5 separate regions of the Homo sapiens genome follow, and all the other regions are linked to region 1. The links are contacts of gene promoters, found by promoter capture Hi-C in blood cells and fetal thymus (Javierre and others, 2016). All regions are on one chromosome and are shown on one strand. The core of a region is centred on a gene start or on the middle of the fragment in contact, and the rest is flanking DNA. Distances in the headings are between cores, read along the strand shown.

Region 1 (5,749 bases), core at 985-3,484:
TATGATTCCTTTATATATGTGGACTCTGGTCAATTACACTTACTCATGATACCCTTACAGATATGTGATTATCCTGAAAACTTAATGGAGTGGTTAGCCAGCTGTTAATTTCAAATTTCCCAGAAAATCATCTAATGTAAAACACTTTTTAAAAAGCATATAAGTTTATTTTTCCTCTTTTCTGCTTTGAGAAGATTTGGGGCAATTGACCAATGTTCTCTAGAGAAACAGCTCACCAGGAATCATCCTAATGGCTGGTGGATAAGACTTGAGAAGAATCACTGCATTCTGTATTGGATATTTAGAGAACAAATGGATGCTTGGGGAACATAACACTTGGAAAACTCGCCTATGGCTTCCAGATAGCTAAAATGTCCACATGCTTACTAATAGCAGAGGTATGTATATGAAGAAATTCCAGGTTGAATTTCACAGGTACCTGGATCAGAACTAGGTGGAACAGATTCTTTTACATACTTTGAGTAGCTCAGAAGCTAACCGTCTATTACAAGTGAAGACCCGTATTGCCATTTCAAAATGTCTAGTTTCTTACTATCAAAGTGCCACTGGAGGAGCCAGCAATACATGACTACAAGTACACGGGCTTTGGAATCAAATGTCTCTGAATGAAGTTGCGTTTCTGTCATCTACCCGCTGTGTGATCTTTGGCAAATGCCTTCCCTTCTGGAAGCTTTGCTTTCCTCAACGGGGTAATGAAGCTGTACCTTGCAAGGTATGATAAGTCAGTGGGATCATGTATATAAACTGCCTATCCCAGTGTCTGGCACTGGATAGGTCCTCAACAGTGTTAACTGTAGTTATCATCAAGAAAGTCATGATGAAGTATACTATAATATTGAGTCTGTTCAATATCTTGATAGAGACTGGGTGCAGTGGCTCACGCCTGTAATTCCAGCACTTTGTGAGACTGAGGCAGGTGGATTACTCGAGTCCAGGAGTTTGAGACCAGCCTGGGCAACATGGTGAAACTCCATTTCTACCAAGAGTTAAAAAAAAAAATTAGCCGAGTGTGATGGCATGCGCCTGTAGCTACTCGGGAGGCTGAGGTGGGAGGATTGCTTGAGCCTGGGAGGCAGAGGTTGCAGTGAGCCAAGACTGCACCACTGCACTCCAGCCTGGGCAACAGAGTGAGACCCTGTCTCAGAAAGAAAAACAATTTTGATAGACACAGGTGACCTTTATTCAGTTGATGTAATATCACTGTCAGAACATAAGGCCAGTAGATCAAAATACCAACCTGCTGCATACATGTAATCTAACAATGAGCTTTTATATTATTGGTATCAGTAATAACAGCTGATATTTACTGAGTCTATATTATGTGACTGTCACTAGGTCAAGTGCTCTGTCTGCAGTATCACATTTAATCACCACAGCAATCCTATAATTTGGATATGATTATCCCCATTTTATAGACAAAAAACCTGAAGCTTAGGAAGGAGAAATAAATTGCTGGAGATTACATGGCTACTAAGTGCTATCAATATAGTGGGATCTAGATCTGGTCTGAATCCACAACACAGGCTCTCACAACCGGGTTACACCTCCTCTTAATTGGTCACACCATTTAAAGAACAAAGAAAGAGAATCTCTTATTAGATGGACTGACCCTACTCTGAGTTAGGAAAGATAAAACACTGAGTTGCGTCTCAAAAGGCTTTAGTTAATGAACAGGAAATCACATATTCAGGCTTGAAGCTAAGACTTAACCTTGTAAATTTTCCTGAAGTGAGAGAAATAGTGACCGTGATGTCAGGCAAAAATCGCCACCACGTGTAACCCATTTCTTCCTTGTTTTGCCTTTAGTTAGCTTCAAGTTCTTTTTTCACATTGTATCTTTTAAATGTACCGTACGTGTGTTGTTAACAGCACACTCAGAATCATATCTTGGCATTAAAATTCCACGAAGTCCATTTTGAGAATCATATTACTACACCTATTTTTAGCTGTTAACACAAACCACTCTTTCCATTACACTTTTAAATTATCTACTGATAAAGTGACATTGAAAATAACTCTTGTTGCCAAATAAAAACCCTATATTTGGTTTAATCGGGCCAGACCCATTGACCGGCATTATGCAATTATATTACTAAGGCTGCTACCTGCCCATGCCCCTCTCCTCCTCCTGGTTTGGAACTACCCTCCCCATCTGCTGCTATATTTATCTGCCTTCTTGGCCATAAAAGGCTGGTTGTGTGGCCTGACATTCGACTGCCTGACCACATGCATTATTTTTGAACTGGCCCCCAGGGTCCTGTCTTTAGCCCTGCCTCTTAACATTGTCTTGGATTCAACCTAGGTGGAGTCTTCATTCTCTCATCCAGCTCCTCGGCCTCATCGGAACATTTCCACCACCATTACTCCTTTGGAAACTGGTAAGTGTGACACTGAGGCAGAAGAATGCACTTGATAGCTTATGAGCTTAGCAGCAGTGCAGTGTAAGTGCTTTCTTTCTGTCTTCTGAACTCAGCAGTTTTCTCAAAGAGATGTCAGAATAACAGAGAAATAGGAAAGTGAAGCTCCAGGGAGGGAAACCAGAACAGCCGGGTGCCAGTCGGGCTGGCACAGCTCTTCTCTCACATCACTGTATTCTTCTGAAATTAAGCTGCTGTTCCTGGAACTGTAAGGAGGTCATATCTGCCTCGGATTGAACTGTAAGCGTGTGTTTAATGCTATTTCCAAGTACGGTTTGGTTGAAATCTGAAATGGATGAGAGACAGGAGGCCCTGCATTTTCAATCCTGCATGTGCCATACAATGCTCCCTGGTTACAAATTAGACCGAAAGAAGGAAAATTAACTCTGAAGTCACTAGTTTATAATTCAGGGATCTTGCTGTGACGATGCAATGTGGATAAATGTGAGCGCGCACAATGATATGGCCTCAAATGGTTAAGTAATATTTCAGAGGCAACATAGAGCCCCACATAGTGATTTTTCTGGGAATCGTTTTCATCAGCTTCTGCCCTCTAATGCCTGCACAAAAGTATCATAAATTACAGCTATGGAATTTGTATTTCTTCCTAAATTCTCAAATTATTTTCAGAAAGAAAATTTAGGTCTTAAAGAAACAAAAGACACTAAAACCATCTTTCCTCCCAACGTACTCCAGCCGTCATGTGTTGGAGCTAATCCTGGCTTTAGTTAACTTCAAGGGCTTACTTGATGAAGAGGAGGTGGTTGTACCTTTGTTCCAGAGGTCAGGGCTGTGACAATCAGCAATGTGGGCTTCAAGTCAAACCCTGTTTACTTGTAACTTACTATCTATGTGAGAGGAATAGTAAGTATTATTAAAAATAAATGTATTTGGGAGAAATAGAAATAAAGAGAGTAAAAAATAGTATTGGGGCAAGATATTTAAAGATTTTATTTTGTGAAAATAACAGCATTTCAAGTCATCTGGGGAATGAATTTAGTTTATAACATAACAAGTTTCTTTATTATTTATTTGAAAAATCATTCAAATAACATGTGCCATGTTACAATGTAGTATCATAACAGAAACTTCTCTAATATCTTTATAACTGCCTAACGTAATTCTGTATTAACATTTTCTAACCCCTTTGTTTTATCAAAATTCATCTAGTAGTTATTAATTATACATGGTAATTATCCTCCATATTTTGTAACAGAAAATAGCCATCTATTTAAGGGTTGAAGCAAAGTTGCTTGCTAGTAGCTATTTTTTTCCCTTAGGAAATGCCCTGTAGACTGATATCTTCCATGAACCCTAAGATAAATATTTCTGGAGTGAAGTTTGCTCAGTTTTCTTCTCTGGGGAATACATGCTGACTTTTAAAATAGTTTAAATAAAAAGTAGTTTTAAACTTGACAAAGAATATGCTGAGTTTAGAAGGATTCATTCTTCATTTTGAATTTTTTTAAAAATGACATTTGGAGAAAACAGATCACTTTAAAACTAATTCTACAGCATTAAAACACTTGGGGGTGGAGCTTTTATAAAACTATTACTTCATCCAGGGTTGTCAACGTGGCTGATAGGCCTGCTTCAGTGGATAAACTATTCAAGAATGCTAAGGCCATGTGACATCTCCCCACCCTATGCTAAACAAACATACCTTTGACTTTTAGTAGAACTGCTAGCTCAAGTTCACAATGCCAGCTGTCACCCTGGGAATCGACTCTCTTACCTCTTTAAGTAGGGAGACTAGAAGCCTGCATGTTCCTTATAGAGCAAACAGGTTTTTTTGTTTGTTTTGTTTTGTTTTCTGGTTTGAGACTATACCTTTGCTTGAAATGTTTGTGAGATTTGAGAGAGCTTATATATAAGATTAGCATACTCCAGGGTTCAGTTCTAGGACTTTATTTTACTTATTTTATTTTATCTTAAATTTTTATAATAGAGACAAGGTCTCACCACGTTGCCCAGGCTGGTCTCAAACTCCTGGGCTCAGGAAATCCTCCTGCCTTGGCCTCTCAAAGTGCTGGAATTACAAGCATGAGCCACCATGCCTGTAATTTCCTTTTCTGTGTATAATGGTCCTCATCTGTTTTCTTTTAGGACTTTCTTTTCCGTGTACAATGGTTCTCACCTATTTTCTTGGCTTTCGATACCACCTATATGCTGTTGACTCCCAAATGTATATCTGCATCCTGGACCTCTCTCCTGCACTCCAGAGTCATGTATCCAGCTTCCCACTTAAAATGTCTCCTCTGGGAGGTCTAACAGGCATCTCAGATGTAGAGCATTGAAACCAATCTCCTGTTCTTCCACCCCAAACTGATACTTTCCCACATTCCTCCCCATCTCAGTTAATAGCAACTTGTCTTTCAATTGCTCAGGCAAAAACCTTGGAGTCATCTCTTTCTTTCACATCCTAATTCAGAACTTTCAGCAAATGCCATTGGTTCTAACTTCAAAAGCTGTGCAGAGCTTGACCACCTCTCACACTTTCGCTGCTACCCCTGTCACCTCTAGCCTGGACCATTGCAGTGGACTTTGTATTCTTTTGCCCGGGCTATCATAGCTAAGCGCCATGGACTGGGTGGCTTAAACAACAGAAACTTATTACCTTACAACTCTGGAGGCTGGAAGTCCAAGATCAAGGTGTCAGCTGGGTGGTTTCTTCTCAGGTCTCTTCTCGGCTCATGGATGGCTGTCTTCTCCCTGTGTCTCCACGTGGCCTTCCCTCTGTTATATACATATTTGGATCTTGGTTTTCTTTTCCTATAGAGACACCATCATATAGAATTACGGCCCATCCTAATGGCCTAATTTTAACTCAACTTCCTCTTTAAGGACCCTATCTCCAAATATGGTCACATGTTGAGGTACTGGAGGTTAGGGCTTCAACACAGGAATTTTGAGAGGATACAACTCAGCCCTTTCATAGGTCTTCTGGCTTTCACTCTCATCCCTCCACAGTCCATCTTCAGACATCGGCGAGAATGAGTCTCAGCTCAGAGTCTTCCAATGGCCTCTCAGCCCTTTCACAGTATTAGCTGAAGTCCTTACTGCTACCTACAGGACCCTACACTACTGGCCCTTCCACCAGGCACATAGCTCACCTCTTTGACATCATCTCCTATACCTCTCCCATCCCAGAACCCCTGCCAATCAGTGGTTCCTGGAGCACAATAGTCATGTTCATTCCTCAGTGCCTTTGCTCTGGTCTTCCTTCTGGAATACTCTTCCCCAGAAAGTCTCATGCTCAGATGTTACTGTCTAGAGAAGCCATCCCTGCTGAGGCTGTTGAAAATTGCATC
Region 2 (5,817 bases), core at 3,148-5,647, 160 kb after region 1:
GTTATGACATTCTACTATAGTTTTGTAAAATGTTACCACTGGGAAGCTGGGTAGACAGCATACCAGATCTCTTTATTATTTCTTATGGATTTCTTTATTATTTCTTACAACTGCATGTGAATTTACAATTATCTAAATCCTTTTCAATTAAAAAAAGTAAGGTAAAATAAAACTGTAGACCTTGTGTCTACATACATATCTAGAATATCGATCTTTTAGAATAAGGTTTCAGCACAGATGGGAATATTTTCTTTAGGAATACGTTTTGGTAGGGGACCACTGCAACTGCAGCAGATTGGATGGGCTTTGAGGAGAGAAGTAAAATAAGGGTGGTGGAATTTGAAAATCAGTAACATTATCTGAAGCAGCTGCCGTGATTCTGCTGCCCGGCTCTTTGATGCAAATGAAAGGCAAAAGTGAGCAGGTGGCAATTACAGCAATGAGATTCCTGTACCGAGACAGAACCCAAAATGCCACAATAGAGCAAAAGGCATCTATATGTTTATGAAAGAGAAAGTGAAAATGGGGAATAGACATAAACTCTTTCGTGTGTTTTTGATAATAAGCATTCCAGAAGCCAGAAAGCATATAAAGGCCTTGAGGAGCATTAAAAGGCCTTGAGGAGATCCCCTCACATGTTATTTCAAACTGTAACTCACACAGGTGCATACACAGAACTACTTTAAACCCTGGTCCGGGAGGCTTTTACTTATCCTCCCTTTGGTCATGCCAAGCCACCAGCCGGCAAGATTGTTGACAGTGTGTCTATTACATCTAATTTATCTTCTTCTCTCCCATAAAACCTGTCTTGCAGGCCCTTAATCTCACTTGCAACGTGTGGGGAGACCCGCCTCCGGAGGTGTCGTGGTTGAAGAACGAGAAGGCCCTGGCCTCAGACGACCACTGCAACCTCAAGTTCGAGGCTGGGAGGACCGCGTACTTCACCATCAACGGCGTGAGCACCGCTGACTCGGGCAAATACGGGCTGGTTGTGAAGAACAAGTATGGCTCGGAGACCAGCGACTTCACCGTCAGCGTGTTCATCCCAGAGGAGGAGGCGAGGATGGCCGCCTTGGAGTCCCTGAAAGGTGGCAAGAAGGCCAAGTGACCGGAGGTGCGAGGAGAGCCAGCCGGCCTGTGTGACTTGGGTGTGAATGGTTTGGGTTAAGGATGAGACGTCTTCATGCTTTCTCCTCCCTATTATTTTCTGGCTTGAGGGGAAAATAATGTCAGGTCTTTCACTCATATAAAAAAGCACCAACTAATGACACTTTAATTGTTTTTCTTTATCTACAAAATTATGTGTTAAGAAAATACCATTCATAGCATGAAGATTAGGAAACAGTTTTAAGGAGAAGACTTGAATGAAGTTGGAGGGACATTGAATGATGGTCAGAGGGCAGACGAATGTGTCGTGGGGCGAATTGGGATTTGCTGCAGCTGTGAAGCCATGGCCGTGTCTCGTGTGTTGTTACAGAGGTGATGTGCTTTTCGACGGGCGCCTCGTGGCTTGGAACCTCCTCTGTATGAATAAACAGTTTTCACGTCTGTCCTCTTCCCCGACACTGTTTCTCAAATTCCTGCTGTTTTGCTGCTAGGTTGGGTGGCTTCTTGGTGCTTCTTTCTCAACGCGTCTTGTGCCACATCTTCTGATTTAAATTCCTTTTGGTGAAAGCAGTACCTTGCAACATGATCAGATAAGTCGTTTGAGCTCAACGAGGTTCAGGGGTGTGAAATTACACGGCCACTGCACATCTGGTGGCTTACCACACAATCAAGCCAATTCCATTAATAAGATACACAAGGCAATTGAATGTAATGTGACAATTACATGTGATAAGATGGTGTGAGGCGCCTCCTGCCAGAACTGGAGACTAAGGGCCCACAGCTAAGAATAAAAGGTACATAAGAAGCCTCATTCTGAGCTCAGAGAACTGCCAGCTGTGGAAATTGCCACTCCCTGAGGGGTTTGCTGAGGGTCAGCATCCCAGCAGCAGCTGTTGTAGAAAGTTTTGTCCTCCCCAACCCCAGCACCACACACACACACACACACACACACACACACACACACACACATAACACACACCATTCTAGGAAAATCGTCATGGTGTTTTTTTCTGTTGGGTGCAGTATCTCACACCTGTAATCCCAGCACTTTGGAAGGCTGAGGCGGGAGGATTGCTTGAGTCTAGGAGTTCAAGACCAGCCTGGGCAACACAGCGAGACCCCTCTCTACAACAAATTTTAAAAATCAGCTGGGTGTGGTGGTGCCCACCTATAGTCACAGCTACTTGGGAAGCTGAGGTGGGAGGATCATTTGAGCCTGGGAGGTCAAGCCTGCAATGAGCCATGATGGCGCCACTGCACTCCAGCCTGGGCAACAGAACAAGACCATCTCATAAAAACAATTTTTTCCCCTTCTTTCTCCTGCCAAAGGTAGCGGATGAGACAAGAAATTTCCTTATACAGTTGGCAGGGGCTCCTACACACCCTCTCCTTTACAAGTTTAAGGCTGGAAATTGCTTCTCATCTGACTGTGGCCAATCCACTTGTCCAAACAAGTGCTGGATGCTGCTGCTATGACACTGAACACCAGGCAGGAGCCAGATGCTGTGTTCTCACTCCCAGATATGGCAAGGAGATGAGCTTCCCAAGGGTCAAGCGGACCCCATGGAAGGTGGCTGGCCATGAGCAGTCTGCGGTTCTGCCTGCCTCAGTAAGAGGGCTACATCTGAACAAGCTGACCCGGAAGGAAACTGCCAGTGGGTGGACACCTGCTGGGGAGCTAAAGATGGGAGGGTGGCGGGGTGGGGGTGGGGGTGGGAAAGGTTCAAGCGGCGGCAGACCTCCCATGCCAAGGGCCAAGGGCTGTGCAAGCGAGAGGCCCCTAAGACTCTCCGAAAAGCCCCCACCACACCCCTCAAAAAGCCAGCAACAGAGCTCCCAGTGTCAGAGAGGTGAGGTTTCTGCAAGCAGCACCTCCCACCCCTTCCCTAATTTCCACCTGCTGGATCCCAGACTGGGGAGAAAGCAAGACGGGTGTTGAATCAGGTGGAAACAAAATTTTAAAACAGTGTATTCCAAATTCTGAAATTGTGCAAAAATGTATGAAATCAAAGTGTGCCCTAAGACCCCTGCGCCCAGCAGAGGGGTTTGCTGGGACACAGCAGCAGTGAGTTGGGGAGATGGCTTTTGTGTTCGGAGCTCCATACGCTGAGATTGCTCAACAAAACAGCTATAAGAATTATTTCAGCCATTATTATGACCAAACTAAACCAGTGACCTCAAGATTTAATAGCTTAGGTAAAAAGCTGCTATTTCTACAGGGGAAAATAGAACTGAAACTATAGATCCATCACTTTAATGGTGCCGAAGATACTTTGTAACACATAAAAATTTATGAATCTGTGACCTGGTAAATGTGAAGTAGTGGTACTTAAAGGATCAACTTGGAACACAGAAAAGACCATTCAGAGTTTACTTCAGTTTTATAAAATTAATATATAGGCTGGGGTGCAGTGGCTCACGCCTGTAATCCCAGCACTTCGGGAGGCCGAGGCGGGCGGATCACCTGAGGTCGGGAGTTTGAGACCAGCCTGGCCAGCATGGAGAAACTCCATCTCTACTAAAAATACAAAACTAGCCGGGCGTGGTGGCACATGCCTGTAATCCCAGCTACTCAGGAGGCTGAGGCAGGAGAATTGCTTGAACCCAGGAGGCGGAGGTTGTGGCGAGCCGAGATCTCACCATTGCACTCCAGCCTGGGCAACAAGAGCGAAACTCCATCACAAAAAAATTAAAAAAATAAAAAAATTAATATATATATATATATATAATAGTCAAGTGACACATTTTAAAACCTAGATCTTCCTAAATTCTTGAAGTTCAACTTTAAAACATTATTTTTCCATTTAAAAATCTGACTATTGAAGAACATTAAGTTTAAGGCTGCTTTTTATAGCATAACTTAATTCCCTTTAATTTGTTAAGCTTTATTTATAAATTAATATATTTTCTCTCCACTTTAAGGACTACTATTGTCTGACTTAAACAAAACTGTCTCAAGAACTTAAATAACTTTATCTACTAAACTAAGTATATAAATACAGAAAATTTGGAGTTTTCATAAATATTCTCATATTGTATATAAACCTAGTAAGATGAACATAAAATCACAGTCAATTAAACATTTTACATTGGAATCACAAAGCTGGAGGCTGGGTGCAGTGGCTTACACCTGTAATCCCAGCACTTTGGGAAGCCCAGGCAGGAGGATCACTCGAGCCCAGGAGTTTGAGACTAGCCTGGAGAACATGGTGAAAGCCCATCTCTACAAAAAATCCAAAATTAGCTGGGGGTGGTGGCACGAGCCTGTAGTTCCAGCTACTCGGGAGGCTGAAGCAGGAGGATCGCTTGAGCCTGGGAGGTCAAGGCTGCAGTGAGCTGTGATTGCACCACTGCACTCCAGCCTGGAAGACAGAGTGATACTCTGTCAAAAAAAAAAAAAAAAAATTGGACTTAGTCACTAGGCTAAGACATTTCAAGTACATGAAAATCAAATATGCACAGCCTACATAATGCAGAAATACTAATTTTTGCCTAGATATAGCCTCTAAGATCTGGGACTGGAGTTTTAATACACATGCCAGAATGAGAGATGTAGACCTGGATTGTTCAAGGTAGTGAGTTGGTACCCAAGATGCCTGCACAAATCTGAGATGCACAAAGAGTGGCTTAGTCAAAACAAAAATGGGAATAGTAAAAATATCACCAACTGACATAGAGAAGCTATACAGAAGCTTTCCATCTGCCTGGGGGCGGTTCTGGATGGAAGAAAATTTAATGGATTCCTCAAACTAGTACTGCATGTTTGTGGGGTGCAAATTTACAGCACCACATGGTAACAATCTCAAGCCAAGAATTCCCATAAAAATGGTCGAGGTCCGGGGCCTCAGGGAAGCAAATGCAAAACTACGCTAGACGGGATTCTCTGTCTGCCCACAAAGGATTACTGTTATGGAAATTGTCCTCCCACCATGAACAACTAGAAAAACAGGCAAAATATCAAAACATATGGAAAAATAACCGTTTAGGGCATTGGCCAGCAGATGTGCAGGCCCAAGATGCCTGAGAGAAGGGGAAAGTGATGAGACACCTGTGATTGCTCCAGCTTCTTCTTGCCTAGACAGAGTGCTCAGGCTGCAGCCCAGCAGGGGGAGCCTGTCAGTCTCATTGAATTGAGGGGACAGAGACTGAGGTTCAATGAGGCGGGGTCGTCTAAAATGTATGAGAAAGAATAAGAGAGAGAGGAGAGTTGCACGAAGACAGGGTGCTGGAGGCTGCACATGCTCTTTGGCTGAGTACTATTCAGCAAATGCACGGGAGAAAGAAATCTGGAAAGCCTCAGGCCAAGCAATTCTTGGAGCTCACGCGGGCTGGAAACAGAGTCCGTGTCCACCAGCCGGAATGAAAAGACTTTGTAATACGTGGGCCTCGGGTAGAGTCCTCAGAAGTTTCTCCTCCATAGTGGGGCACTACTAAGGTGAGAAATTAATCCTGGATTAAAAACTCCTCTGGCCCCACCCTAACAGAGCTTAAAAGCAAGCCTCAAGAGGATCAAATATCTACAACAAATCGAGTGTCAGAACAAGGTGCAGCGCATTTTAAATGAACACACTGGCACGGTCTCAGGTGTTCATTAGTTCTGTTCTGTGGGCCTGCTTCACATACCCACAGCAAGATGTTTAGATAAAATACTAATACATCAGTTATATGGAGGATTACAAACTGGATACATAGTGACCATCACATCACAGC
Region 3 (5,478 bases), core at 2,786-5,285, 250 kb after region 1:
GGACATACCAGGGCTTTTGTCTGGTCATGTCTCTGGGTAACTGCTAGACTATAGATAAGTTGCTTCTCTGGGCCTCAGTTTTCTTATTAGTACAATGAATATAACATTTACCTCACCTAGTTGTGAGGATTAAATCAGATGAGGTACGTAAAATGGCATTTGGGGTTTAAACAATTTTTGTTTGTTTGTTTGAGTCAGGATCTTGCTCTGTTGCCTAGGCTGGAGTGCAGTGGCACAAACATGGCTCACACTACAGCCTTCACTACCCTGGCTCAGGCATTCCCTCCCACCTCAGCCTCCGGAGTAGCTGGGACTACAGGCATGCGCCACCACACCCAACTACTTTTTAAAAAAATTCTCTGTAGAGATGGAGTCTCCTTACATTGCCCAGGCTGCTCTCCACCTTCTGGGCTCAACTAATTCTTCTGCCTTGGCCTCCCAGAGTGCTGGGATTACAAGTGTGAGCCAACGCACGCAGCCTAAAATGGCAATTGGAAGGGGTAAGTTAGTGCCCTCTCCACTTTTTCCCCCATCATCTCCCTGTAACTAACATTAGGAAGAATAATGAGTAAAACATCTGAATTACAGCTTATGTAATTTGTTGAGGATATACAATGTTTAAAAAGTTAAGACCATGAGAAAATGAATTTGAATTTTCACCAGTATAGAGGTGAATTTACATTTTAAGCAAATCCCACATGTGAAAATCCAAACTTAAAAAACAGTTACGTTATTTTACAAAGGAAGGATTTCTCTAATAACAGGCTCCCCCAAGGACACTGAAGATTCCTTAAAAACAATACCAGTAGAAGCCCAGGCGCGGTGGCTCACGCCTGTTAATCCCAGCACTTTGGGAGTCTGAGGCGGGCGGATCGCGAGGTCAGGAGATCGAGACCATCCTGGCTAACACGGTGAAACCCCATCTCTACTAAAAAATACAAAAAAATTAGCTGGGCGTGGTGGCAGGCGCCCGTAATCCCAGCTACTGAGGAGGCTGAGGAAGGAGAATGGTGTGAACCTGGGAGGCAGATTGCACCACTGCACTCCAGCCTGGGCCACAGAGCAAGACTGCATCTCAAAAAAACAAAACAAAACAACAACAACAACTAAACAATACCAGTAAAATCAACTTTGTAAAAAGATATCTTAGCAATCCCGTTTTAAAATATCCAAATAAAATGAAATTATGTTCACACAAATGCCTGTACACAAATGTTTATAGTACAGAATGAGCATCCCTAATCCAAAAATCTGAAATCCAAAATGCTCTAAAATCCAAAACTCTCTGATGCCACAAGTGGAAAATTCCACACTTGCCCTGGTGATAGGTCCCAGCCAAGATGCAGTTAAAGCTTTGTTTCGTGTGCAAAATTAATTGAAAATATTTTCTATAATTACCTTCAGCCTATGTGTTTAAGGTGTATATGAAACATAAATGAATTTTATGTTTGGACTTGGGTCATTATGTATATGCAAATATTCCAAAATCTGAAAATATCCAAAATTCAAAACATTTCTGGTCCTGAGCATTTTGGATAAGGGGGATACTCAACCTGTAGTTTTATTTGTAATTGCCGAAACCTGGAAACAACCCAGATATCTTCTAGCTAGTGAATGGATAAACATTTGATACATCCATGCAGTGGGGTACTACTTAACAGGGAACAGACTACTGATACATGCAGCAGTATTGATTAATGTCACGTGGACTGTGCTAAGCTAAAGAAGCCAGAATCCAAAGGTACATACTGTATGGTTCTATTTATATGATATTCCAGAGATGGCAAGACTAGGGACAGAAAGCAGATCAGTGATTGGCATGGGTGGGGAAGAGGGATTGACTCCAGATGGGTTTGGGCATTTTGGAGAGCAGTCTGATTGATCTGTATCTTGATTATAGTGGTGGCTACAGCAATGTGTGGTCACAGCTAACAACTGTACACTACAAAAGGGTTAATTTTCCTGCCTGTAAAGTGTATGCTTTTTTTTTTGTTTTAAGAAAAATCTATTTTGAATAGTTCAAGGTACAGCTATTTGTAATCTTAAAACTTCATAGCTAAATTGGCATGAACATTTAGCTGGAATTTTTTCTGTGCTGATAGGTATAACCATTACACAAAGGTTAACTTAAGTAATAGTTTAATATCTTTCATTATTAATTATAAACAGAATGTTGAACTGATTACAGTTCTTAATGATTTTACTTATTGCATTTCTCTCTATTTGCCAGTCAGGTTAAATGTTCCCTGTAACAGCATCTGTCACCTCATGTACAGAGGTCAAAACTGGGCATATTTTAGCCTTGATGGGAACAGACAAGAATTAAATTATCAGAAAGTTTCATGACAAGGTTTTATTTTCATTTTGGGAAATGAAGGGAGAAGCATTAAAGAGAAATGTGGGAACAGGAACCATTTAGTTTTACAGAGCTATGATAGTTTGAAACAAGTTTGGCCATGTGAATGTTGTCGGGGCTGAGGAAGGGAGTTGGGGCCCCCTTTTGAGGGTGCTGCTTACCGTTTTAGGATCTCCTTAAGCCACACATGTTATTTTGAAATTTAACGATAAAATTGAACACTAGTTTTTCTTGCTCTGTACCAGGTTCTATTTCTGAAGAAAATTAATGTTCTGGTACATTATTGAGCACAGGAAAATTAAACTATTGTTTCCAGCCATTTTCCTTAAAGGCTGTGCTCTGTAGCATAATTATATTGGGCATTTTCGTAAAAGTCAGCTGACTAGTAGAAGATGGATAACTTTGTGGTTGTGTTTCACTTTGTTTTCTGTAATAATGCAGTTACGGCACCCTTGCCCCTGCCTCGGCTGACTTCACACTGACTTCCTCTGATGACCAGCAGTCTCTGCCGCGAGTTGCTGCTGCGCTGCTCAGTATTCTCCAGAATGATCTACTTGGCTGTCATTTGTTCTCACGGGGATATTTTTAGATTTACCCATCCTGAGGCGGTGTCATTTTTGTCACTGACATAGACTAGATTTATGCAAGTTTTTCTCTGTGAGGTCTTCAGCAGCTTCTGGAGGAAAGTATTGGTCTGAACACATGGGCATTGCTTTTGGGACTTTGGGTTAACTTCCACCATGGATTTCTTTTCTTTGTTTTTGTTTTTTTGTTTTGTTTTGTTTTTGATATGGAGTTTCACTCTGTCGCCCAGGCTGTAATGCAGTGGCGCGATCTTGGCTCACTGCAACCTCCACCTCCTGGGTTCAAGCGATTCTCGTGTCTCGGCCTCCTGAGTAGCTGGGATTACAGGTGCCCACCACCATGCCTGGCTAATTTTTGTGTTTTTAGTAGAGAGTTTCACCATGTTGGCCAGGCTGGTCTCAAACCCCTGACCTCAGGTGATCCACCCCCCGCCTCGGCCTCCCAAAGTGCTGGGATTACAGTCGTGAGCCACCGCACCCAGCCTGTTTTTTTTTTTTTTTTCCAGTGCATGGTTATATGTATCTTCACTTACCTCTTGAATTTTACTCTAAGTCAGTGAGATAAAACGCAACACTGTGTATATTTCTCCCTCTCCTTGCTGATTCTGTTCACTAGGTCTTGCATTCATTCATTCATTTATTCATTGGTCCATTCATTGATCCAAAACCACTTATTAAGAACCTACTATTGCTAGGCACTGTGCCAAGCTTTCAGGAAGCAGTGAAGCTTGCGGGACTTTTCTCTTCCTTACCGGAACTCAAGAGTTTGAAGGTAGCCTAAATGTTCATGCCGCGTGGTGGGTGCTGTGGTAGGGAGAGGGCAGGGGGCCTTGGGCACTCACAGCAACAGATCCCATCTTGTGACCTCTGCTTTCTTCTCAGCCGCTGAGCCCACACATCCTCCCCTATCATCTTTTTGATCTTTGCCTTTGTGCTCTGGGGATTCACAATCTGTTGTGGATGTACGTTCCTTTTTGATCCCACTTCCTCCTTACCCAGGGAACCTGAAACATCCTTGCTCCTCTTACGAAATACCAGATTAAGATGAAAACTGGTATTGGCTTTTGAAGAATTGTCCAGAAAATTATTGGGCTGATGACTGGGGTGGGTAGAAGATGGGGGCTGGTAATTTTTGAAGATGAAATAGGTGATGTTTATGGTCCTTCCTTAAGTTATACCTGCTGAAAAGCTGAAGTAGACACTGTCGTTGAGTAAAGGTCTGGGCCGCCACTCGGAGAGAGGGTGCATTGCTATACTGGGAAAGCGTCTTCCCTTTTCTGAGCCCTACTCAGTCCAACAAAGCAGTTCATCTGTTTATAGAAAGTGAGTGTGTTGAAATCATCATAGTGAAGTGAACTCAGTGAGCAGAAGTCTGAGCTTTCAGATTCCCTCAAAGGAAATAACATGGTGACAGATCCAAAAATCCTAATTTAAAACTTATCAGCCCTGAGAACTAAGCTTAAGGCCAGCTTCATATTTTCTCATTTTTAAAAAATTAAAAATTTTTTTCTCAACAGATTAAGTTGTTAAGTAGCATAAAGTGTTATCTGGGTTATGTTTGAAGCATGTTCTTGCTAGTTTTGCCAGGCTGATATTTGCAGGAGGGTGTTTTAGGGCTCCAGGTGGCTTTATCCAGTCAGGATCTAGCCTGTCTGATTTAAGTCCTCTGTTGGCAACATTGGAAATGGACTCTGAACAACCACGCAAAGAAACTTATGACTGGCTCATCGTTCAGAGAGATGCCAAGAGGGCAAGAGCCAGGGCCACCTGGGGTGTCAGTGTTCCAAGCTGGTGGGCCTTCTGCATCCCATCTCAGGTAGCCCAGCCCTCCCAGTCTTGGGTGGCCTTGGCTCTCCATATACGTTTCATGAATATCTGTTTGGGCCAGATGTTTCCCACCCCTGTCAGCCAGCAGATACCAAGACCTGGGTCCCGTATTATAGACATGGCTACTGGGGGCCCACCCTTGTGTTTCGGTGCCTCTCTGAGCACTGAAATCATTGAAATCCAGGGAGCCCTGTTTTTACCTTCAGATCTAGCCATTGCATTATGTGTCTGTTTAAATTCCCAAACAGAAATATTGAATCAGAAAATCCCCTCTTCTTACGTATCCCAAAGGTTGATATTGAGTAATATTTGGTTGTAATTGTGGAAGGGGTCCTTAGGCAAGCAGTCTTCCCAGGCCAGAATTTCTGAGTTTTTTCACAGAAGCACTGCCAGTTCTAGAATTTAAGTATCATAAAACAGTCAGGTCAGCTGTCATTAAAATGTCTAAAATTCTATTACTATCTATTGCTTCCACTTCTGATCCACACTTATCAGACCTTGACATCTTTATACGACAGGATGTGAACTTGAGCCCATAACAACTTAGTCTTCATAACAAACTTAATCAGGCTTAAGAGGAGAAAGTTCTTGCAACAGAGCCTAGAGTTAGTTCCCAAACTTGGGTGTCTGTCAGAATCGTGGGTAACAGATTTTTAAGACCTCATTTCCAGCTTTTTATGTAGTAGGTCTGGGTTGGGGTTCATGAGCGTG
Region 4 (5,547 bases), core at 2,242-4,741, 140 kb after region 1:
TCCATTTTTCAGAGACTACTAAGGACAAATATATCATGATGATGAAAATCTACATGGGAACTCCAAACTTACAATTTTGTTCCTGAACAAGATTTTTAAAACAATATTGCTAACAAACAGCAGAAGTCTGACTAATTTCACCTTCCTACTTTGGGTGGAAGTGGGGCTAAATGTGTTTATTGGCAAAAAGCATTATCAGGCTGATGAAGGCCAGGAGACCTACATGGTTAATTCATTATGAATCGATGACACGGCTAAGAAAATGTCCTCTAATGTAAACTAAGGCTTCCTGGGAATTAAGAAGAAAGAGAATCCCAAAGCCAAGAACCTTCCTAGAAATCTCTTGTGGCCCTTTCTCTAGAATGTAAATATGGCGATTGTGACAAAGAATTCAAGGGAAAAAAAATCAAAATAAGCAGGGATCTTTTAAAACCTGATAAAATTGAACTATTTCCTCAAAGAATACTCATTATCAGTGGGTCGACAAATTCACCTTGTTTCCATTTCCTTTCAACCAGAAAGGGAATTTTTGAGAGCTAAGAATTTGAGATTTAACCTTACATTGAGAATTTTTATGCTAAAGTTTTGGCTCTGAATCTCTCTCCACAGCCTTTAAGGAACTGATGATGGAAGTATGCAAAAAAATAGGTGAGTCAAACATTTCGCACCACAACAATGCTTTATGATCCTCCTGCCAGGAGGGGCATGCAGATGTATGAAATATGCTATTTTCTTCTTTCAGCTTTGTCTGCTACAGACCTGAAAATCCAGAGCACAGCCGAGGGCATCCAACTGTACTCTTTTGTAACTTACTATGTGGAGGATTTGAAAGTTAACTGGTCCCACAAGTAAGTAAATGAGAACTTACTTGCTGTGTAGAAATTCTTTCCCTGCCAGGCGCGGCAGCTCACACCTGTAATCCCAGCACTTTGGGAGGCCGAGGCAGGTGGATCATTTGAGGTCAGGAGTTCGAGACCAGCCTGGCCAACATGGTGAAACCCTGTCTATACTAAAAATACAAAAAAAAAAAAAAAAAAAAAATGAGCTGGGCGCAGTGGCAGACACCTGTAATCTGAGCTACTGGGGAGGCTGAGGCATGAGAATTGCTTGAACCCAGGAGGCGGATGTTGCAGTGAGCCGAGATTGCACCACTGTACTTCAGCCTGGGTGTCAGAGTGAGACACTGTCTCAAAAAAAAAAAAAAAAAAAGAAAAAGAAAAAGAAAAAAGAAAAGAAAGAAAGAAAAAGAAATTCTTTCCCCACTGGAAGAGGGGAGGATAGGGAAAAAATTTTTCTGTTCTTCTCAAGTAAGGAGTCTTCTTAATTCTCAAGTCTGACATTGGTGAGCCCAGGAGATAAACATCCAAGGCATTCTGTTACTGTGAGGTTAGCTCTTTCCCTCAACATGTACATGCTGAGGCCAGTCATAGTTACAGTACATCTTTCTTTGTGATTTAAGAAGTACCATAATTCATAGACATCTCTATAATGCAGCCTCCACCTCCAGACAGTCATGCTTGGGCTCTCTCTGCTGTGCCAGGCATCTGGAGCCACATTCTTACCTTTCTTTCTATACACACGGTTAACACATCTGTGGTCTGGAACAGAAATGAAGCAGTGTGCACCAGGAGGCACCAAATTTCCCATGATATGAATGAATGGGCATTCACCAAAGAAGCCTAATCCAACGAGTGCCCAAGATTATTGTTGTTGTTATAGCATCTGGCAGAGTGAGACATTAGCATGTTTCTGGTCCACTCTCAGAAGGCTTTGGAGATCTCAAGTTGACTTTGGGGAAGGTGAGTTTGAACCTCTGTGCAGTTATACAGGGACTCTATTCAAGTTCACTTCTGGGATTCCAAGAGCTGAAATCAGTTTCCAAATCAAACCAGGCCTCCCATTTACACTCTTGACAGTGTCCTTAACCTCTGTGTTTCCTTGAAATATCCTGAGCTGAAAGAGAACGGAGGCCTGGCAAAGATAATCCAATGGAATGTAGCCACATTCAGTCCAACTTCAGGATGCAAATGTTCCAAACTGCAAATGTTCCTAGGAGCCCCACTGAGAAGAAGGTCACATGGCATCCCCAGGAGGGTGCAGATAATAAGTTTCCTTACACTGTACCCTCAGTGGCATTGACAATATGGGGGGCACTGCTCAAAGCCCTTTACATATGTGAATTCATTTCACATTCACCATTCTACATGGTAGGTGCTCCTCACTTGAGGGATGAGGGAGCTAGGGCTCGGGGAGGTGACCGGCCTAAGGTCACACAGCTAAGAGGTAGGTCAAGGCTGAGCCTAGGCAGCCTGGCTCCAGAGCCCGGTTCATCATGGTACTACCTGCCACTGGATTCCAGCCGTGTGAAGTCTAGATTAGAGATCCCCAAACCCCAGGCCATGGACCGGTACCAGTCCGTGGCCTACTAGGAGCTGGGCCGTGTAACAGGAGGTGAGTGGTGGGCGAGGGAGCGAGCATGACCACCTGAGCTCCGCCTCCTGTCAGATCAGCTGCGGCATTAGATTCTCATAGGAGCGCGAACCCTATTGTGAACTGCGCATGCGAGGGATCTAGGTTGTGCGCTCCTTATAAGAATCTGATGATAAATGTTATGTGCTTGAGTCATCCCCAAACCCACCCCCGACCTGGTCTGTGGAAAAATCGTCTTCCATGAAACCGGTCCCTGGTGCCAAAAAGGTTGGGGACCACTGGGCTAGATTGAACAGTTAGCCAGAGCCAGGCCCCACAAAGCAGCCATTTGTGTTTTCTTTAAGATGACTTTACTGTTATATAAAACAGTGTTTTCGTTAGTATTATGATTTATTATTTCCTGAGTCATAAAAATGAGAATTAGTAAAATTCCAATGTAGAATGCTTGGGGCTTATTCCTTTGTTCTGTTTCTTTCAGAATACATTTTAGGAAAGTAATTATTAGCTAAAATAGATCAAATTCCAGGAAATTCCTCTGTGGCATCTAGGACATTCTAATATATCAGTCTGAAGAATGAGAGAAGTAAAATTCATTGAATCATCAATCAAAAAGCTTTATATCTTCTCTAAAAGAATTAACTTGTTCAAAAATGAGAACACTGAAAGTATGTTTTGAGGAAATTGCTATTAGGCCAGCAAAGCATAAGTATCTTAATTATTTGGTCTAGTCAATCAATTATGTCTCTTGTGTTTCCGTGTACCTATGACATTCAGGGATAAGGATGGTCTTTGCTGTCTGTATGTGGCATAGAGGGGAAAAAAACCCTTGAAACGGATTTTAGTCTTCACTTTGTTCCTATCTTGCCTTATGATCTTAGACAGGTCATTTAATTTTCTGAATCTCAGTTTTCTCTTATATAAAATAGGACCAATAGTACCTATTCCATCGGAAGCACATTACAGATGTAAGGTACCCTTATTCATGTTACCCAGAGATTAAAGATTTAAAACAGATTTATTATAGCAAAGCAGAGGACAATCTTTCTGTTTAACTCTCTCTCTTTTTTTTTTTTTTTGAGACGGAGTCTCACTCTGTCACCCAGGCTGGAGTGCAGTGGCGTGATCCCGGCTCACTGCAACCTCTGCCTCCAGGGTCAAGCAATTCTCCTGCCTCAGCTTCCCAAATAGCTGGGATTACAAGCGTGTGCCACCATGCCTGGCTAATTTTTGTATTTTTAGTAAAGACGAGGTTTCACCATGCTGGCCAGGCTGGTTTCAAACTCCTGACTTCGTGATCCACCTGCCTCGGCCTCCCAAAGTACTGGGATTACAGGCGTGAGCCACCACGCCCGGCCCTGTTTAACTCTCTAAGACACATCTATTGCTCATGCCAAAATCTGTCTTTACATTTTATGGCATCTTTATTTTTAATATCTTTTTAGATAAATAATGTTATTTAAAAAATGTAATATTATTAAAAATGCTAAATATTAGAAAGCTAAAAGCTTTTAGGTAGGAAATTTTTTTTTTTTTGAGATGGAGCCTCACTTTGTCACCCAGGCTGGAGTGCAATGGCGTGATCTCGGTTCATTGCAACCTCCGCCTCCCGGGTTCAAGCGATTCTCCTGCCTCAGCCTCCTGAGTAGCTGGGACTACAGGCACATGCCACCATGCCCAGCTAGTATTTGTGTTTTTAGTAGAGACAGGGTTTCACCATGTTGGCCAGGCTGGTCTGGAACTCCTGACCTCAGGTGATCCGCCTGCCTCCGCTTCCCAAAGTGCTGGGATTACAGGTGTGAGCCACCGTGACCAGCCAGAAAATTTGTTTTTCTATGTTTTCCAAAGTTCATTTTGTTTATTACAACAGACGTAAGACATGCTTGTTTCAGAAAATACATTTATAATAATATAAATTAGAAAAAACTATAATATAATAGTATCCATAGTTTTACCAGCCATAATATGAACATTTTAGGGTACTTCCTGCTAGCCTTTTTTCTATGCATGATGGTTACTATAATAACGTCATTTTATATACCACTTTTTAACGTCATTTTGTATGCCACTTTTTAAACATTTCCTCAGTTTTAATAACTTCTTCATAAAGTTTCTTTTAACATAATTAAAAGTACATCTACCTAGCTTTCTCTTAGTTCGTCTATATCTGTAGTATTTCTACACCAAGATCACACAAAAAAGGGTTGTATTTCCTAATATTCTCTTGCAGAGAATATATTGCATGGGTCTGCTCATGACCTACTGTAGAATTCTGAGAAACTCACATCCCGGGACAGAGAACATGCCTCATTCGTGTTGGCGGCAACTCTGCTTTTCATTCACTCTTGGCTCTACTACCAAGTGCATATTTATCTGTTTTAAATAGCTTTCTAACAACATATGTCAATAGATGTCAGGCACAGATGAGCCTCCATAAGTGTGTTTTTGGACTAGCTTGTAGAATCTGATTTATAGCCATAGATTATCTAGATGAAATATGCAGTAAAATAGTATGTAGTTTGGCCTTTTAGCTTTATAGATTACCCTAGTCCTACAAATAAACCCAAACAAAAACAAAGATAATTAATGCCACCGAGAAGTATTAGTATTGTGATTTGCACTGGGCCTCAGACTGCTATGAGGAGTTATTAACAAATAAATGTTCAGACTGTCACACCTTGGGCCCTGGAATCCCGGTTCTGTGTGTCATGGCCCATAATTTTTCTGAAGCAGAAGAATAACATATGCAGATCCCTCGTTTTTTGAAAGCCTACAAAACTTTATGGCAAGAGCTTCAATGAGAGACAAAGTAAAGATCAGCCCTGGATGGAAGCAAATGCTAAGGAAGTTTTCTTCGATTTTCACAGTGGGTCCGCCATTAGGTACTCAGACAGAGTTAAGACCGGGGTCACTGGAGAGCAGATCTGGCTACAAATCAACGAGCCCACCCCGAATGACAAAGGGAAGTATGTCATGGAGCTCTTTGATGGCAAAACTGGACATCAGAAGACAGTGGATCTCTCTGGACAAGGTAAACAGATATTTTGCAGATTCAAATTTACTCTAGATGAATGAGCCTTTTAAAAGGAATGAAGGGAGTTGGGCATGGTGGCTTATGCC
Region 5 (5,212 bases), core at 127-2,626, 230 kb after region 1:
TGTTACTCATGCTTTTGGTGTTATATCTGAGAATCATTTGCCAAATCCAAGATCATGAAGATTTACCCTATGTTTTCTTCTAAGAGTTTTATGGTTTTAGGTCATTAATCCATTTTGAGTTAATTTTTTAATATGGTGTAAAGTAGGGTTCCAACTTCATTCTTTTGCATATAGAAACTTAGTTGTGTCAGCACCATCCGTTGAGACTATTCCTTCCGCCATGCAGTGGATTTGGTACTCTTGTCAAATATCAATTGGCCATAAATGTTTGGGTTTATTTCTGGACTCTCAAGTCTATTCCATTGGTCTGTATGTCTGTTTTATGCCAGTACTACAATGTTTTGATTACTGTAATTTTTTTTTTTTTTTTTGAGACAGAGTCTCACTCTGTCACCCAGGCTGGAGTGCAGTGGTGCAATCTCAGCTCACTGCAGCTTCCACCTCCTGGGTTCAAGTGATTCTCCTGCCTCAGCCTCCCGAGTGGCTGGGACCACAGGAGCCTGCCACACACCTGCCTAATTTCTGTATTTTTTGTAGAGGCGGGGTTTCACTGTGTTGGCCAAGCTGGTCTCGAACTCCTGACCTCAAGTGTTCTGCCCGCATTGGCCTCCCAAAGTGATGGGATTACAGGCGTCAGCTACTGCACCCAGCCTGATTACTGTAACTTTGAAAGTTTTGAAATCAAGAAATGGAAGTCTTCCAACTTAGCTCTTTTTCAGTATTATTTTGGCTAGTCAGGGCCCCTTGTAACTCCATATGAATTTGAGGCTTTTGGAATTTTGATAGGGATTGCCTTGAATTTGAAGATCGCTTTAGGTAATATTGGCATCTTAACAATATTGAGTCTTCCTATTCACGAACACGGATGTCTTTCTATTTACTGAGGTTATCTTTAATTTTTTTTTTCAGTGATTTTTGCAATTTTATTTGTACAAGCTTTCACCTCCTTGGTTAAATTTATTCCTAGGCATTTTTTTTCTTTTAGATGCATTGCATAATGTTTGAGATTTTAGAAATACTTAGCATAGTAAATCTGAATTTCAGCTTAAATAATGAGTCTAAGAAGGTACTGTGGAAGACATCTTGAGCTCTAGCTGGTTTGTCCTTGGATATTTAACATAACCTCTCTCTAAACCTCCATTTCTTCATCTGTAAAATATAGGGATAAAGCAAATCTGTCTTTCATGAGAATTGTGTAGATCAGAGATAATATATGCAAAGGATTAATTCCAGGGTATGGCTTAGAGTAAATACTAAATAAATAGTGCTTGGCTGCCAGGATTGTGTTTTCTTCTATGATTTCAATATAAATACCTATGTTGTACTTGAAGTATACTTTTTCAAATTGAATACAATTAATTTGTTGCAAAGGCTGAAGATTTTTACACAAACTAAATGCCCTGTTCCTGAGAGAGCTTTTTTATATTAAAGTATGTTGAGTCTGGAAGAAAAATAAAATGAAATGTCACACTTGTTCTGTTTCAATGGTGCTTTATCCTTAGAAGAGGGAGCATTTCTTCTCATGTTGCAACTTTCAGATGCCTCTTTGCTTTTTGAATCCTATCTGTGTCTTGACATTACAAGGTTAAATCTTAGACATTACCAGCATTTAACTTGAAAGAGTAGCAAAGCTGACTAACTTTTCCCCTTTTCTTTTACTACTTAGTGCATTGAGGCTTTACCCTCACTGGAGATTGCAATTACCGTCACCATCTGGAATTGGATTCATCTGTATGTGTAGAATATAACTTACATATAAAGCTGAGTATCAGTGTTTCAGGTTTTCTCTTTTTCTTACACATCTCAGTCAAGCTTTAGATTGAAGTAGGCAGATTCACTGAGTGTAATAATTTAAGAATTCAGTTACTTTCATTTTAATTTAAATTTCACCAATTAAATAAAATTCTTCATAACACTTAAGTATAGCATTAGAATTTCTAAACATTGTGAAACTAAATTCTTTATTCTCATAGCAAAGTATATTAGTCATTTTTGCCGTTTCTCCTGAAGAGCATAAATGAGCCTGCATTCAAGAATATGGAATGTTGTACATTCTGATGGGGAAATAGAGTGGCAGAATATAGTCAGGTTGAGGAGCATGGAAGTTTGAAAAAGAACCAGAAATTTGGAGAGAGAGCTGACCACAGAAACAAAGGAGGGTTGCCAGATTCTGTTGGGGACCCATTTAAGGCTACAGATAAGTAATTTATACTGTTACCCATCTGGCCTGCTGGCAGCACTCATGATGATTCTTTTTTTTTTTTTTTTTTTTTTTTTTGAGACAGTCTCTCACTCTGTCGCCCAGGCTGGAGAACAGTGGTATGATCTTGGCTCACTGCAACCTCCGCCTCAGCCTCCTGAGTAGCTGGGATTACAGGCGTGAGCCACCACACTCAGCTAATTCTTGTATTTTTAGTAGAGATGAGGTTTCACTGTGTTGGCCAGGCTGGTCTTGAACTCCTGACCTCAAGTGATCCACCCTCCTGGATTCTAAGTACACTTAAAATTACAGCAGCCGTTCGTTTCTATAGATGGAAGAAGGTGGCAGGAAGAAGAGTAATTACTAAGAGTAATTTACTAAGTAAAGCTGATTACAAATATCTTTTAAATAAAAAATTTTTAAGTAATTGAAAGAGATCACAGCAACAGAATAATTTAAACAACCATCACCAGTTTTTCAGGTGGTCGAGAAAATCTTGAATTAGAACTGTTGTGAGGAACCAGCTATGGAAGAGAAAATTGGAGTCAAAGATGGACCTGAAATGTCCACGTGGAAAAAAATAAGTCAAGGAATGTGAGGATGAGGGGTTCCTACATGATGCCGATACATTTTGTGATAATTTTCACTTATATTTTCTTTGGATTGTCTTAATGATATAATCAACTCTTGCTCACCTTATTTGTTGTTTGTTGCTGTTTTTGGGGGACAAGCTTTAAGCTATCTCACTTTTTGATCTGGAGTATAGGAACCCAGCACTGGCTTCTTCCAGCACCTTCACTTGGCCTCAGTGTTGTGATGCACTGAGCCACCCCTGTTATTGTGAGTCTATAACAAGTAATTTGTTTCTGAAAAGATTAAAGCACTACACTTTGAAAATTATTTAGTGTTTTAAAATTTGATGATAGTAAGACTTGCATTTCAACAGGATTTTTTGAGTTTGAATGAAATGGGGGTGATATAACCCCAGAACAGAAAATCGTATACCTAAGGGTGTCATCACTGTGCAAACTGCTATTCAGAGGTGAAATGGGAGAAGAAAAAGACATTTAAACAGAAACAATTAGGCAATTAACAGGCCCCCTCTTCACCCCCGACCTCCACCCCTGTCAAGCAACTGAGGCCTCAGGAGTCCTGCCTGAGCAGAACAGAGGGTTTTCCATTTCTTTTGGCTTTATTTTGTTGAAAATGTTGTCCAAAAGTTGTGACACAAGTCAGGCCATAATTACTCTGATCCTAAATTAGGCTGTTCAGCTTTACTCTCTTAATGTTCAGATGCACTTGACTGCTACAGCCAGGCAACTCTCAGTATTGTCTCTCTTGTCTCCAAATAGTGGGTAAAAGCTTGACCTCAAACATTTGTGTTGGAAGGGTTAGACCGCAGAGGTTGTTTGGTCCTAAGCTCCTTAAACTGCGATGTGTACACTGAGCATCCTCTAATTCTTACAGTAAATGTGTTGCATTAACCTTTGAACTTGGAAGAAGAAAGCTTTGGCCAGTTAGTCTTTCTTTTTTTTTTTTTTTTACATTAAAAAAATAGACTTATCACAATAGACTACAAAATGTGTGAATTTTAAAGATAAATGACAAGTCTTCAAAGAAGTTTATCTTTGGGAGAGTCACTTTAAGCTGGGCGTCTGACCTCAGGAGACCCTCCCTTGTTTTTTCTCTTCTGTTCCTGGAAAGATCTGTTTGCATTTGGTTATTCACTCACAGTTCAGTGAAATTGCCAGCCACTAGCTATCTTGTTTAGAATTTTGAGATTATATGAGGATATTATGAAACACTGGAACTTGAGTAAACTATATAACCATTACCCAATGAGCAGTTAAACTACAAATGTTTGAAAAACCCAAGAGTGGTAGCAAGAGGAATTTTATCTTGGTTTTGAATAAAACGTCAGTCCCTTTGGGGTTGTTTTCATAAACAGTGAATTATAAGTGATTCCATTTAGGAGAAGAAACACTTCATATGCTTTGGTGTAGATGGTGAGAGCCATTTGGCTCTAAATGAAAACATTTGTTTCAGGTGAGCCATGGTCCTTTACATGTTCCCTTTGTCATGAGGAGTCTTGAAAATGCAGAAATGCACTTAGGTTCTTCACTATAGAGGAATTCCGGTGGGTATTATGAAATTCTTTGTAATTGAGGTTATAAAATATTTTCATGATTTTTTAATAATCAAAACTTAGTTTTGTCACATCTTCATTGGTAATCCAGGAGCAAGGTGTTGTGTTTCCATAGTATGGCCACTGGGGGGGAGTACAATTATTTTCATGTTTTATGGTAAAATAACATGCTTGTGGTGTAAAGGTATTTCTGTTGAACCAGCTTAGTACAGCTTCAGATAAGCAAATTCTAGCTAGAAAGTTTTAAATAAATCGTTATACCCTCTTAAAAAGCCCTGTATACCTAGTCTTACATACTTATGGGATTAGTAGTAGAAAAAACAAAAACAAAGAAGGTATATATTTTACTTAGCATCATTAAAGCTGTGGAATCTGAACAGGATTCTGTTTTTCCTAACTAGCATTTTAGCTTTGTTTCCCTAAGTTAGACTATTTTTTTTTGAAAGAGTTAAGTCTTGGGAAAAAGACTTCCAAATTCTATGCACTTTTTAAAAAAAAGATCATTGAAGATGTTATACAAAAGTAAAAAGTAGCTTTTTTCAGTAGTCATTTATTTTTATTTTAGCCTGTAGAGAAAAAGTTTGACAATACAGTAGCGTTTTCCTTTGAAAATCATAGGGATGATTAAGAATTGTTGGTTGTGATTTTTAACATTTATCCATCAAGACTGAAAAGTGCCACCTTGCAGATGGTGGGGGTGGAAGCAGAACTTTGGCTACCAGCTTTGAAGGTCAGGGTGATCCACAGGTGGCCATAGGAGGAAACTTTAGGTGTGTGCCTGTTGGCAACACAGATGTTTAGAAAATGAGCTCACTTCTGATGGGTCCATAGTACATGTTCCTTGCAGTCAGGACATTCTGGGAGTC

Evidence for each region. Contacts are between HindIII fragments. The CHiCAGO score rates a contact against its expected background, and 5 or more counts as called.
Region 2: a contact is called between a fragment that was not itself captured here and the fragment with the promoter of MYOM1 in region 1, in 1 of 17 cell types (M1 macrophages). The highest score is 5.8, in M1 macrophages.
Region 3: a fragment that was not itself captured here is called in contact with the fragment with the promoter of MYOM1 in region 1 in 2 of 17 cell types (megakaryocytes and erythroblasts); the score reaches 10.9 in megakaryocytes.
Region 4: a contact is called between a fragment that was not itself captured here and the fragment with the promoter of MYOM1 in region 1, in 1 of 17 cell types (M1 macrophages). The highest score is 6.3, in M1 macrophages.
Region 5: a contact is called between a fragment that was not itself captured here and the fragment with the promoter of MYOM1 in region 1, in 11 of 17 cell types (megakaryocytes, M1 macrophages, erythroblasts and 8 more). The highest score is 10.9, in megakaryocytes.

Annotation. Positions count from the first base shown.
Region 1 is chr18:3,216,453-3,222,201 of GRCh38, reverse strand. It overlaps MYOM1 (myomesin 1), which reads left to right and starts at 2,234. Exons shown (of 38, transcript NM_003803.4): 1 at 2,234-2,399. RefSeq lists a silencer at 3,937-4,231. The HindIII fragment of the contact is 10,525 bases long and covers 1,454-5,749 here.
Region 2 is chr18:3,062,553-3,068,369 of GRCh38, reverse strand. MYOM1 (myomesin 1) reads left to right here. Exons shown (of 38, transcript NM_003803.4): 38 at 815-1,563. The coding sequence ends at 1,108. Among named protein-coding and RNA genes, the nearest start is that of LPIN2, 52 kb to the right of the region's middle. The HindIII fragment of the contact is 809 bases long and covers 3,993-4,801 here.
Region 3 is chr18:2,969,712-2,975,189 of GRCh38, reverse strand. The region is part of intron 1 of LPIN2 (lipin 2); the gene reads left to right. It overlaps LPIN2-AS2 (LPIN2 antisense RNA 2), which reads right to left. Exons shown (of 3, transcript XR_001753322.2): 3 at 5,081-5,162. Among named protein-coding and RNA genes, the nearest start is that of LPIN2-AS2, 5.5 kb to the right of the region's middle. RefSeq lists enhancers at 1-327, 2,439-2,588. The HindIII fragment of the contact is 731 bases long and covers 3,670-4,400 here.
Region 4 is chr18:3,079,090-3,084,636 of GRCh38, reverse strand. It overlaps MYOM1 (myomesin 1), which reads left to right. Exons shown (of 38, transcript NM_003803.4): 32 at 610-648; 33 at 743-848; 34 at 5,295-5,458. Among named protein-coding and RNA genes, the nearest start is that of LPIN2, 69 kb to the right of the region's middle. The HindIII fragment of the contact is 892 bases long and covers 3,046-3,937 here.
Region 5 is chr18:2,985,079-2,990,290 of GRCh38, reverse strand. All of the region lies in intron 1 of LPIN2 (lipin 2), which reads left to right. It overlaps LOC124904236 (a long non-coding RNA gene), which reads right to left. Exons shown (of 2, transcript XR_007066268.1): 2 at 4,881-5,212. Among named protein-coding and RNA genes, the nearest start is that of LPIN2-AS2, 21 kb to the right of the region's middle. The HindIII fragment of the contact is 876 bases long and covers 939-1,814 here.